2 separate regions of the Homo sapiens genome follow, and region 1 is linked to region 2. Evidence: promoter capture Hi-C in 16 types of primary human blood cells and fetal thymus (Javierre and others, 2016). All regions are on one chromosome and are shown on one strand. Each heading gives the region's core, a stretch centred on a gene start or on the middle of the fragment in contact. The rest is flanking DNA. Distances are from core to core; before and after follow the strand shown. Region 1 has its middle 28 kb from the start of BICD2. Region 2 holds the start of ASPN (asporin).

The links. The method cuts DNA at HindIII sites, captures the fragments that hold promoters and counts their contacts. A CHiCAGO score of 5 or more calls a contact.
Region 1: a fragment that was not itself captured here is called in contact with the fragment with the promoter of ASPN in region 2 in 2 of 17 cell types (M2 macrophages and M1 macrophages); the score reaches 5.6 in M2 macrophages.

The regions. Positions count from the first base shown.
Region 1 is chr9:92,789,775-92,796,379 of GRCh38, reverse strand. No RefSeq gene overlaps it. Among named protein-coding and RNA genes, the nearest start is that of BICD2, 28 kb to the right of the region's middle. The HindIII fragment of the contact is 8,551 bases long and covers 1-6,605 here.
Region 2 is chr9:92,476,941-92,483,890 of GRCh38, reverse strand. It overlaps ASPN (asporin), which reads left to right and starts at 1,385. Exons shown (of 8, transcript NM_017680.6): 1 at 1,385-1,598. The region is part of intron 5 of CENPP (centromere protein P); the gene reads right to left. The HindIII fragment of the contact is 2,340 bases long and covers 966-3,305 here.

The sequences.
Region 1 (6,605 bases), core at 1,441-3,940, 310 kb before region 2:
CTTCACCTCCTGAGCACCAAGGCCCCTCCTTCGTAAGGATTTACCCCATTCATGTGAGCCCCAGGAAGAGTGATGCATTTTCAGATGTTTTTAGAGAGAGGGCTCGTGGAGCACTAATCAGAGCTGTCTATGTTTGAGGATGTTGTTATGGATACATTCATTTTTCAGGATGAAAGTCCACGCTTTCCTCACACAGCAGTCCCTGATGGTTCTCCCTCTGTTCAGGGCCTTCATTACCATGTCTGGCACGACCCTGATGCAAATGAAACATTTCCAAGAACAAGGAGCTATAACAGGAACTCAAATGTTGCATTTATAATGATTCCCACTTCGGCTTTTTGACTTTAGAGTGCAAAGAAAAATGTGCAATTTCTTATTTGGGCAAAAACAAAATAAAATAAACAATGAATGCAAATTCCAAATCAGAGTCTGTTACTGTGAAGTATAGGGCTCTTAAAGGAAACAATCTAACTCTAAAAATGGAACAAACCAGAGCAGCTGCCCTGAAGAATCAAGGTGGTTTCCACCCAAGCTCCACCTGACGCTTGTGAATGGAGAAACCAACGACACCCGTGAGCACAGACCTGCTCTCAGGGAGGGATTTTACCTTCATCTGCACAAAGCACACTGCGTAGATCCATGGGGGCTCATTGGCACTAAATAGAAAAATAGATCCCTTCTGCCTCGTTCCAGTTCACACCCATGTAGCCACAGAGCTGGCAAGAAGAATAAAAGAAAGTTTTAATCTATCCCATTCTCAGTCTCACTGCATTGACATTTATTAACCAACTCCATTACTAAGTATACACTCCAACATTTGCAAAATGCTGACTACATTATGTGCTCTACAGTGCCAGAAGTTAGTTCATTAAAATCTGAATTTAAATTCTATGTCCATTTAGAAACTATTTGTATTATATTCTTCTGTAATTGGTTAATACTTATGAGTCTAAACGCAGGAATATGGATTTTTCAATGAACTTTAAATAACCTTATTGATTAAAGTCAAAGTAATGTTTGCTTAGAAATTACAGGATTAGATTTCATTATTATTTAATTTACTTATTTTTAACTCCTGGCTTGTCAGGAAGATGGCAAAAGTTGATGTGTTCCCTTTTTCCTATACTATGCTATGAAACATGGAATGTGTCATTCTTATCTTACTAAAAATGCAGTGTTGCATCACACTGCAGTATGGTCATGGCACAATTTAGCTTCATCACAGAATAAATCAGTCATAATTTAAGTGCCATTTGCTATGCCTTTCCAATAGAATCCGCCGGTGTTCACATGGCAGATATTATTATGACCAGGCATCATTACAACTGGCCATGACAGGCCAGGCGTGGTGGCTCACGCCTGCAATCCCAGCACTTTGGGAGGCCAAGGTGGGCGGATCATGAGGTCAGGAGTTCAAGACCAGCCTGGCCAATATGGTGAAACCCCATCTGTACTAAAAAATACAAAAATTAGCCGGGCATGGTGGTGAGCGCCTGTAGTCCCAGCTACTCGGGAGGCTAAGGCAGAAGAATCTCTTGGACCTGGGAGGTGGAGGCTGCAGTGAGCGGAGATCATGCCACTGCACTCCAGCCTGGGAGACAGGGCAAGACTCCATCTCAAAAAAAAAAAAAAAACGATTGACCATGACTCGGTAATTCCTGGGCTTCAAAGTCAGTCGCCTTGTCTTAGTTCACAGGCTTGTATTGCAGGACTGGCTTCTGTTATATAGCAGGGCTCACATACTCTCTCCTACAGGGATGTAGGTGGTATTCAGACTAGTTCCTTTTCCTGCTGATTATACTACAGGATGTGGGTTATCCAGAGCAGAGTGCATTGGTCGAAGTTGCAAGAGCTCTCAGAGAGCTTCCATAGGTTTGGAGACCCATACGATTCCCACAGGTGGGCCCCTTGAGCCTCAGCAACCAGGACAGAGGGCCACTGCCCCACGGCCACTTTGGCCTCCATCTGTAACAAAATAGTCAAGTAACCCTGTTGGATCTAGGGAGAAGCCCTTTCCCAACACTGGGTGCTAGCTTTACCCAACGTTACCCAACCCACTTCACCGAAGCCTCATTGTCCTCCCAGGCTGACTCCCACCCCTTGCTCCCTTTAATCTGCTTATTTTTTTCAATAAATTTTTCCCCACTGAGTGCTACTCTTCATCAAAAGCAAATTCAGGCCGGGTGCGGTGGCTCACACTTGGAATCCCAGCACTTTGGGAGGCCAAGGTGGGCGGATCATTTGAGGTCAGGAGTTTGAGACCAGCCTGACCAACATGGTGAAACCCCATCGCTACTAAATACAAAAATTATCTGGGCGTGATGGCGGGTGTCTGTAATCCCAGCTACTCGGGAGGCTGAGGCAGGAGAATAGCTTGAACCCAGGAGGCAGAGGTTGCAGACAGCCAAGATTGCGCCACTGCACTCCAGCCTGGGCAACAAGAGTGAGATTCCCCCTCAAAAAAAAAAAAAAAAAGCAAATTCAGCTCATCCCATGAAGCCGAGGCCAGCACCCGTCTCCCCTAAGGCCCTTTTCTGTCTGGTGGGCCAGTGTTCAGGCCACCATGCATGCTGTTGCCACTGTGTCCTCGTGGCTGAGCGCAGTTAGGATACATGTTTCATTACTCAAAAGTATTGGGTTTCCCCATACTTGCATTTTGTAAGTCGTGGTCACACCTCATTGTCATTTAGTCTGAATATGTCATAGAGGTTTCCATTGTCTTACTTGTGCATGGAGGGGCTGCTCCCTTGGGGAATTTGGACCCACCGGGTGATGCCTACTGCTTTAGTTCCATCACCATCCCAGTGGTTTTTCCTGGTTTGTGTAAGAGCTTTCCATTCACAGAACAGGGTGGTTTGTGTCTGTGCACAACACACTGTGGCATGTTGGACAGGCCACCATTCTATGTCGTCCAAGATAACCAGGGAGAACTTTGTAAGCCTCTGATCACCTGGGTTTATAGTTACACAGGAGTCAGTCAACCAGCAATCATACACTACACAGTCTGATGCCCCAATAGGGAGTAGTTCCCAAAAAACCCTTCCCAAAAGATACCCTTTGTTGTAGATGTACCCTGAAAAGTCAGAGTTGAAAGATGCTAGAGTTCCACTTGGTCATCGTCGTGTGACCACAGTGTCTCTGACAGTGATGTCACTAGGTTTGCAGGTTGCTATTCGACCTTGTCAGATTCCTAAAACAGGGATGGTTTGACAAACACACAAGTTTACCCTTTCAGGCATCTGGTATAACTGTGCTAAGAGACAATATAATTCCCTTGCTCTGAGCTTACCTCGAGGCACCAATATATTGTTGGGTTTCTCTCATTGCATAACCCATTTATTCATTCCTTTGCCCTCAGCTACTATTTCTCCTTCTCTCCATTTGTCATTGATTTTCACCCAACTTTCACACCTTTAGAAAGGATGAAGGGATGTTAGGTTCATCCACTGTGTAGGCCCAGATGGCCAGCAGTGTAGGCCCAGATGGCCAGCAGCAATACCACTTCAGCAGGTGCCTCCCGCAGGGCCATTTCCAGTCATGTAAGGTAGGGCTGCAAAGAGACGAACTGTGAGGCTGCCCTGACCACCAGGAGATACAGCTGCACTCACTGTCCACCTCTGATTTGCCAGATGCAGTGGAGGCACAGCTATCCCATCAGACCTTTAGGATTTCTGACACAAATGTTAAAAGATATAACAACTGTTTCTCACTTAAGAATCATTCCTGCCTCTGGCCGGGTGCGGTGGCTCATGCCTGTAATCCCAGCACTTTGGGAGGCCAAGGCCGGCGGATCACAAGATCAGGAGTTCGAGACCAGTCTGACCAACATGGTGAAACCCTGTCTCTACTAAAAATACAAAAATTAGCTAGGTGTGGTAGTGTGAGCTTTACCTACCCAGTGGCAGATGCTTCCAACACTTGCAGCTGTGGGCCTGATCTCAGGCTCTTTTCAGCAGGTAGGAGACAAGAAAGTTGAGGTGCTGTTGTGAAGAACTGCATAGTCGTAGCAGCATCCTTCCCGGCCATCTTCCCCAGATCACCCCAAGAGTGGAGGGATCTATCTAGTGGGGATCCTCCTTGACCACCACATGTTAAGTGTGAGCACACATGCATGGAGGTGTGTAAGCCTTCACGCTTTTATCTCTCCCCATGTAAGATAACAAACATTTCCATTGCCCATTTCAATTCTCTCACAAACTACTCTGAGGATAATGTGCAGCATGATATACCCATTTGATGGGATGTCTCCTTGCCCTGTGTAGGTTGTAAAGTGTGTTCCTTGGTCCGAAGGTATGTAACTTAGTGACACACATTGATACAGTGACTTCTGCTCAGTACTTTTATAGTATCTTGAGCATTTGCATCTGCCACTGGGTAGGTAAAGCTCAGTCCAGAGTAAGTGTCTATTCCTGCCAGAACCCATTTATAAACTCCCTCCAGGGCTACCAGCAGGGGTCCCGTACAGTCCACCTGCCAGCTGCATGTGCGGTGTTCTCCCTCTGGGGAATCTGCCCCTTAGCCACCTGTGGTCTCCATCTTCTTGTTGTCAAGGCATTTCTTGTTGGCATTTGTGTCTCTGAGGGTGCAGGAGGGACATGTTTCTGAGCAGCCCATCCCTGCACTGTCACCCACTCCTTTGTTGAACCTAGGTGGCCACCTCAAGTTTGTTCACCAGGATATCCACCTACCGGATCTGATCACAGATCCTGGGAGGGATTCTTCAGGTGGGCATTGATATGACCTACTTTAATGTGCCCCTTAAATTCCTGCAGTGCTGTGCTCCATGTTGGCATCCCTTCACAGCCCAGTTTGCCATTGCCCCTCTGCCTGGTCACATGGCCAGGCCATTGGCCACTGCCCATGAGTCAGTAAAAACCCAAACACGAGCTCTTATGATTGTTCCATTCTTTCATCGCAGCAAGAAACGCAGCATGCAGTTCATCTAGCTGGGCTGATTTGTTCTTGCCTTTTTCAATATGAGTTTTCCCATTATTGCTCATGATGTGGTGGCCTTCAGATCTGGATGTTGTCCATCCACCTTGAAACTGCCAACCACAAACCAAATAGCTCTTTGTTGTCCATTGAGAGCTGTTCATGGGGCACCATCCATGATGCCATAGACCTGGCAGATCCTCAGCTGGTTCCGAAACCGGCCAGAGGGGAAAAGCCCTCCTTGCATTCCTCTGTATCATGCTCCTGTAGAAACCATTTCCGTTTTATTATGGAACTCTTCTGAGCAGTGCCTTCCTTATTGAACTGTATCTCTGCCATCCCCCAAGACAACATGTGTATTTCAGGCTTTAAGATGAGAGTATGTCCTTCAGTCTTAGGGGCAGTTTCAATTAATGCCCAATCGCAAGCTACTACCTACCAGGTCTGGGGATTTCCTGGTCCAAAATCCCAGTGGTCACCACTGGGTGGCACTCATGCATAATGTTATTGCACAGAGACCACAGTACCAGGATTCCAGCCTCCAACAGGTTATTAAAGTGAAAGTCTCTTTGCCCACCAAGCATTTTACACTTTTTCAAATTAACAACCTGTCTGGGCTCAGGCCCGTGGGTTCCCATTTAGCGTGTCCAATTAATATGGGCCAAAGGGCAAACGTCCGTGCCTTCTGCTTCACAATACTAGATACAGACCTGTTCCCCAGTCGGACATAATACCCATCCTGTTAACACATTCAGGTAAAGGAGGTGCAACCACTTCACATAAAGTCCATTCAAAATTCCTATTTTCTTCCATATTTTCACCTTAATTACATCAACCCATCAACCATTGAGATCGTGAGAGTAGGGCCTTAATGATGATGTGGAGGTTCACACCTGTAATCCCAGCACTTTGGGAGACAGAGGTGGGTGGATCACTTGAGGCCAGGAGTTTGAGACCAGCCTGGCCAACATGGCAAAATCCCGTCTTTACTAAAAATACAGGCCGGGCACAGTGGCTCAAGCCTGTAATCCCAGCACTTTGGGAGGCCCAGGTGGGTGGACCAAGAGGTCAGGAGATCAAGACCATCCTGGCTAACACAGTGAAACCCCATCTCTACTAAAAATACAAAAAAATTAGTCGGGCATGGTGGCAGGCACCTGTAGTCCTAGCTACTCGGGAGGCTGAGGCAGGAGTGTGGTGTGAACCCCAGAGGTGGAGCTTGCAGTGAGGCTAGATCATGCCACTGTGCTCCAGCCTGGGCAACAGAGAGAGACTCTATCAAAAAAAAAACAGAAAACAAAAATTAGCCAGGTGTGGTGGTGCACACCTGTAATTCCAGCTACTTGGGAGGCTGAGGCACAAGAATTGCTTGAGCCAAGGAGGCATAGGTTGCGGTGAGCTGAGATCATGCCACTGCACTCCAGCGGGACACAGAGTGAGACTCTGTCTCACTAAATAAATAAATAATGATTTTTTTTTAAACGAGGGGATTAGTGTCCTTATAAGAAGAGCGACACACCTGAGAGCTAGCATGCTGGTGCCCGAGCTCTCTCTCACTCAACCCATTGTGAAGACACAGTGAGAAAGCTGCCACTACAAGCCAAGCAGAGAGCCCTCACCAGAACCCGACCTTGCTGGCACCTTGATCTTGAACTTCCATCCTCCAGAACTGC
Region 2 (6,950 bases), core at 136-2,635:
GCCTGAGTTACAGAGGGCCACTAATGGGACTACCGAGCTGCCTGGAACTGTCAGCCTAGAGGTCCAAGGAGGAGTACTTTATTTAAGTGAGGGGAGGATGAACACATAGCCAGCTGCTATGCACATCTGAGGCACATGTATTCTTTAGGACTGTAGCTGCCTTGCTTAACACAATGTGTGCCATTTCTCTGGAGAGAGGGAACAAACGATGGTCAGACTCTTGATGACAGTAGAGAACAGGTCTTCTAACCCACTGGAAAAGCTCTTTGCTGGCCTCCAAATCTATACAACAGTTGGGAAGAACCATTGGGGTCACTTACAACAGTAAGTCCTTGCCACTAGGGTTAGAAAACTGTCCTCTCAGGCCGGCCATGGTGGCTCATGCCTGTAATCCCAGCACTTTGGGAGGCCGAGGCGGGCAGATCACGAGGTCAGGAGATCGAGACCATCCTGGCTAACACAATGAAACACTGTCTCTATTAAAAAACCAAAAAATTAGCCAGGCGTGGTGGCGGGCGCCTGCAGTCCCAGCTACTCGGGAGGCTGAGGCAGGAGAATGGCGTGAACCTGGGAGGCAGAGCTTGCAGTAAGCCAAGATTGCGCCACCGCACTCCAGCCTGGGTGACAGAGTGAGACTCCGTCTCAAAAAAAAAAAAAAGAAAACTGTCCTCTCTTGAAGGTCTTAGTTGATGTAGAATTGGGCAGTCTCTTGGGGATGAGTGGAAAGGGGGTACAAATAATGATTTATTTTCAGGAAATAGCATCTTCCCTGCTCTAAGTCTCCCTAAATGTCAGTGAGGCCATAGCTAATATTCTCTTGAAAAGGGAAAGTTGTATGCATCCTAAGAGGGTGTTACTTGGACATGCATGTGTGTCTGTGTTATATCACATATGTTGAGTCCAGGGAGCAGTTCATGGAGCCTCATCCATAGTTTCCCTGACATGCTATAGCAGTGCTAAAAGCTTAAAAAAAAAAAAAAGTCTGGAGAAGTATGCATAATGCAATAGCTACAGTCATTAGAAGAAAAAAAAAGTATGGTTCTTTCTCAGGTACATCTGAAGTTTGGGTATATACTTCAGTAATGTTGGTATCCTTTATTCAGATTGATAAATATTTTATTAGTCTATACAGGTTGAGTAATTTTTGAAATTGTAATTTACAAATATTCATTCACTTAAGAATCTAATATTTTTAAAACTAGGTATTTCTTGAATGACTCCGACTGCACTTTCAATGGCCAGTTGCCATGCATTATTAAACTTTCTTTTTTTTTCTTCTTCAGAATCTTCCAGTAGACGTCTAGAGTTTAGCTAGAAGTCTTGGCTACGATACAAACAGTGATGGAAAACACATGAGCAGTAACAAGTTTTAATCTTGCTCCTCAGTACTAACATGGACTAATCTGTGGGAGCAGTTTATTCCAGTATCACCCAGGGTGCAGCCACACCAGGACTGTGTTGAAGGGTGTTTTTTTTCTTTTAAATGTAATACCTCCTCATCTTTTCTTCTTACACAGTGTCTGAGAACATTTACATTATAGATAAGTAGTACATGGTGGATAACTTCTACTTTTAGGAGGACTACTCTCTTCTGACAGGTATGTTTCATGTCTATCTTACAAGTATCGATGTATACTTTACAGTCAATACTAAGGAGACATTAATGTTATTAATAAATGCTTATAAATAATAGGATAAAGTCCAAAGTTTATCTCTATAATTTCTTAAAAATCAGCATTTAAATACAAACCTAAATTTGTACCTAAAATTATTCTAGTTTTATGTCTTACCTATAATGAATGTATTTTAAATATAATTATGTGACTTTTTTTTTCAGCTAAGTGAAAACCTGTCATTATGCCTTACCATAAATGTTAACATGATTGATTTTAAAAGTCATCTAAATAAACATCTTGTATGTTTATCTAGGAAAATAACATTGCTATAATAATGATCATGAAGTTTGGGGATATCACAGCTATATTAAATGAAACAGTAAATATATTTTTCAATATTTAAAATATTTTCTAATGTGTATTTAAAATGTGTGAATTACTGAAATGTCAATTTTACTTATACATTTGAATATTCATTTTTTTCCTTGATAAATGTCTTCCTTATTATAATGAAATGGCACTGAAAAGTTCAAATGGAAATCTATTCAATTCCAAGAAAGAATACTTATCAGCAATAGTTTAGCTAGCACTATATTCAATATGAAAGATTAGGAAATTTTCACAGCATGTATACAGTCAGAATTTAACACTTTCAAAGATTTCCTTTGTCTACTCCCAAAGTAAATTTCTGATTAAATTTTAGATTAAAAAATTTAAGCAATGTATTCAATATTCTACTCCCTAGTAATCTAAATAGCGCACAGCATTCTTTCATGTTAATCTATTCAGAGGTGTGGCACCCAGGAAACAGTGGCCACATGGTGTAGGGACTGAGTCATAAAGAACCTGAGGGGGTTGTATTTCCCTAAAAATAAAGTTGTTTAAATCCAAGAATCAAGCTGTTAAAAGAAAGAAATGAAAAAAGAAAGAAAAATCGAGCACAAGCCCACACACATAAAAGGATCCTGATGTTTTTAGTTTGTTTTTTGGCATTAAGGAGTATAGTGTAGTAGTGGAAAGAACAGAGGATATATAGTCTTCTGTTACAACTAACTACTCAATTAAAAACAAATATTCTGATAACTGATCTGAGGTTTGAGACAAAAACAATTAACTTTACAAGCACAAGTCTTGAGGCACTGTGGGAAACATCATAAAAATGGAGAGGCAGTAGATTTTGTTTTTTAAGACAGTAGCTTGATTGCTAGACATGTGGAGAAATTAATGAAGGGCAAAATTAGTATAAAAGGAAGAACAGCTAGAATGCTTTGTCAGAATGCTAGTTATACTTCTAAGGTAAAATTAACTACTTTTTAAGGAAAGTGCTATCTTTATCAGTATCCATGAACAAATGGTACTGTGAATAAGTTTCCAAATGCATGTTGGACTTTTAACTCATTTGTTAGCTTACAAGACTATGCCTTGATTACATCTGAATTTGGTTTGGATTCCTTCGGTGAAATATATGGAGTATGTTATATCACATTTATATGCTGAAATCTGCTACTGGTACCTGTGAACTGATAGGCATGTTTAAACCCAGGGGAAAAGTTGCCAAGCGGGCCTTTAAACATGGGATTTAAAAGCACAGTGACTTATTTACCTAATAATAGTGTCTGAGAGGAAATACCATTTCACTTAGATAAACTTTCTAAGTTTGTAGACCAGTTAAATGGAAACAAGAAAGCTTATGTGCTTCTTAAGCTTTATTTCCAGTCCATATGTTATGAACTCTTTTAAGAACTTGGCCAAACCTCCTTACCTAGGCTTTTCCAGAGGAAAGTCTGTTTACTGTCTGGAAGTAACTATGAGATTAAAATCCATTTAGGAGGACATGCAGTCTAGTGCAAAGCACAACCAACAAGCAGTGAGGAAGCCAGCCCTCAGCTCCACCACCTCCAGCCAGTTCTGGACGCTCACTGCCTCTGCTTTTTCTCAGTAAAAGAGGGCCATGGGGGGAAAGTCTCAAAGACCTCTCTTAGCTCTAGGCTACTATGATTTATTAGTAATAGCAGTAGCACTGGAAGAATACTCCAAACACTACTCTGATTAAGAGAGACTTGAAACCAAAATCCAAAGCTTTCCATGAGTGGAAAACACTGGCAAAACTGGTCTAAATCAGGGAAATATTGAGTATTCCTGAGAAGAAGATTTAATATTTTTAAAGGGTTTAAAAATAGAGTAACCTGAATACTGCCAAAACTAATAAAACAGAGGTTGTACCTCATTAATAAACTCAAAATAAAACAGCCAAAAGTCATATCATTTTAAATGACATATAATATTCTCTACATTCTTTCTGAATAATAAGAAAAAAATACTGCTATCTAGGGTTCTCTCCTAGACATTCCATTATTTTCCTATTGGTAAACAGTTGCACACTGAACTGGGGGAGGTTTAGGACCTATACTTGATTGTACTTATTAACAAAGCAGTGGAAGAGACCCAGCAAGAGACTCAGGTAAAGAGTGTAAATAATGAATTCCTCATGGTATCAAGGTTGGCCTGACTTTTTTCTTTGCAAGCAACCAGGATACACAAATGCAAAAGATTAGATTAATTGTAAAAGGCTAACAGAAGACAGAACTAGCAGAGAGAAATGAATTTTCCAGAAGGCATTTTTGAGTTTCCATATAAAGACTTTCCTAACAGCCATGGATGGACAACTGTGGAAGATGCTGCCTTGAGGTAGTATCCTCTCCCTGGAGCTATTCAAGCAGGGTGGATATGCTCCCTGTTCCAGAATGTTCTGGAACCTTCACCACCAGGAGGAACTCCTGTTTCAAAGGTCTTCATCTCTTATTCTCCAGGAAAGGGCCTAACTACTATATAAAAGTGGCTGCCTCCACTGCTCAGCAACTGGAATGCTTCCCAACAGCTAAAGATAATGCTACTGCCTAAAACTTGCAGGCAGAAGTCTCCATTTCATATTTTAATTTTACCGCAGTTTTGATTAAAGGCAGGGAGGGTCTCCTGTAACTTATCAGTCTCAGAAAGAGGAGAGACAAAGGAAGGGGCCCCGGCTGATGCTTCTCCTGATGCCACTGGGGGACTGGTCAGCAGCCCTGAGGCAGGGATGTGGAAAAAAGCAGGACCACTACTGTTCTGCTCCCTGCCTTCCCTGCCCTGTGTGCCTTCTCCTTCTCCTCTCAACTCTCAGTTCTGCTCCTCATACCTGATCCAGTTCCTCATCTCGAACCTCAGCTCAGTACTGGGGAAGCCTCTCTTGACGGTGGCACGAGGCTGAAGGCATCTGGGAAACCATTACGTGGTGTGCAAAGGAGCTGAGGCCAGTCCTTGCTCCCGCTGCCAGGCCACAAGGAACACCACGATGTGTTCTTGGCACCCCACTTTGGATCTCTAACACATTCCTGGTGTTTTACTTTTTTTTTTTAAGTTCCATAGTTTTTTTGTTTCTACATTTTGGATATATTATCTGTTAAATAGGTTTTTCCGGTCCAGACTGGGAATCTAAAGCCCATTTGGTTCAAAGATTCTATGGGAAAAAACTTAAACTAAAACATTCAGGCTGGGTGCAGTGGCTCACACAGTGGCACACTTTGGGAGGCCGAGATGGGTGGATCGCTTAAGGTCAGGAGTTCAAGACCTGCCTGGCCAACATGGTGAAACCCCATCTCTACAAAAATATAAAAAATTAGCCAGGCATGATGGCACATGCCTGTAATCCCAGCTACTTGAAGGCTGAGGTGGGAGGATCACTTGAACCTGGGACGTGGAGGTTGCAGTGAGCCAAGATGGCGCAACTGTACTCCAGCCTGGGCGACAAAGTGAGACTCCATCTCGAACAAACAAACAAACAAAAAACCCCAAAAAAACAAACAAAAAAGCACAATCAACCAACTTAAAAAATAACCTTGTCAAAATCTTCATTTCCCATTGACCAGAACAAATAGGATTAAGCCTCAAGAAATTGTGAACCCCAAAACAATTTCCCAAGTAGGTGCTATTGTTTGACTTTTGGGTAGAAATAGATGAGAATAGTGTGTATGAGAAACCTTTGATTACACCAATTCCTACCAAAAGTGGTAGGAAAAGACAGCAGTATATGCAGAAATAAAGCAAAGAAAATTCTGTTGGCGGACTGACATTTAAAATATTTTAAAAGCAACATAATTAAGAAACTATGCATGGGAAGAAAAAAAAAATGCTTTGCTTATAATCCCATTATCCCTCTTACCAGGTTTGTACATTCTATTTCAATCTTTTTTTCATGTGAATATATGTTTTTATAAATGTCTTTAGTTCTATTGGTCTCAAACAGTAAACTGAGGGTTATGCGTAGACAGACACGGTGAAGAATTTTACTTTCAAAGCTCTGGGTACCACACATCTAGTGTTAAAGCCCTACACCCCTGTTCCTACCCCATAAGTCACAGTATATACAGTTTACATTGTCTATTTACTAATCCAGGCATTTTATTTTTTAGTTTTTCTATTAATGTACCTGACATTCAAGTGTTAACTTTACGATCTCGTATTACCTGACAGTAGTTGATTAGGAGTTGCGGGTTTTTTATTTTTGAGTAGGGAAGTGTGGGAGAGAAGAGGATGGGGAGGAAGGTGTGCTCTACTTTAAGAAATTCAGCATTCTGACGAGTGACACTGCATGGGGTACAGTGGGTGCTTGGTAAATGCCCACTGAATAACTCCAGCAACCTCAAAGAAAGCCAGAAACAGGACCTTAAATGACATTATAATTCTATAGCTCCTTGTTGCCAAGGTCAGACAAGGTCAAGGGCAGCTATGCACCTAGAAGACAGAGCTGTAATGCAAGAATGTTACAGAATAAACTGGAATCAGGGGCCAACTTTGATTTAGCTAAGGACCAAGAGCTGAATTTTCTAGGGAATGAGTATTTTGAAGGTTGAGGCAAAGCTGGGCACTAAACCTTAAGGAGTCAGGAGCCACACAACAGCCCTAAGTCAAAACACATAATGAGTCAAAGTTAGACAGACAGCAAAGGCACAGAGACAATGTGCCAGGGACAAAGTGATATTGAGAAGGAAGCCCCCAGTAACCTTTACCAGGACCCCATACAGCATTCACAGGATGACTGGAATACGAAACATCAACCTGCCTGCCAGCAGGGACACCCCATGCCTGCTACAGAACAGTAGTCAGCCACAGTTGGTGATTTCCACCTGGGGCTCTCCAAAAGAAGCCACTGAACCCTGTGTTGCCAGCACAATCTCTCACCCAGTACTACACAAATCTGATCACACAATCATTCTGTTCTCTACCTTCCAATCCAAGCTACACAGGTGCTTCTTTATGTACAGATGTGTACAGAACAGTAATTTGTATACTGGTTAG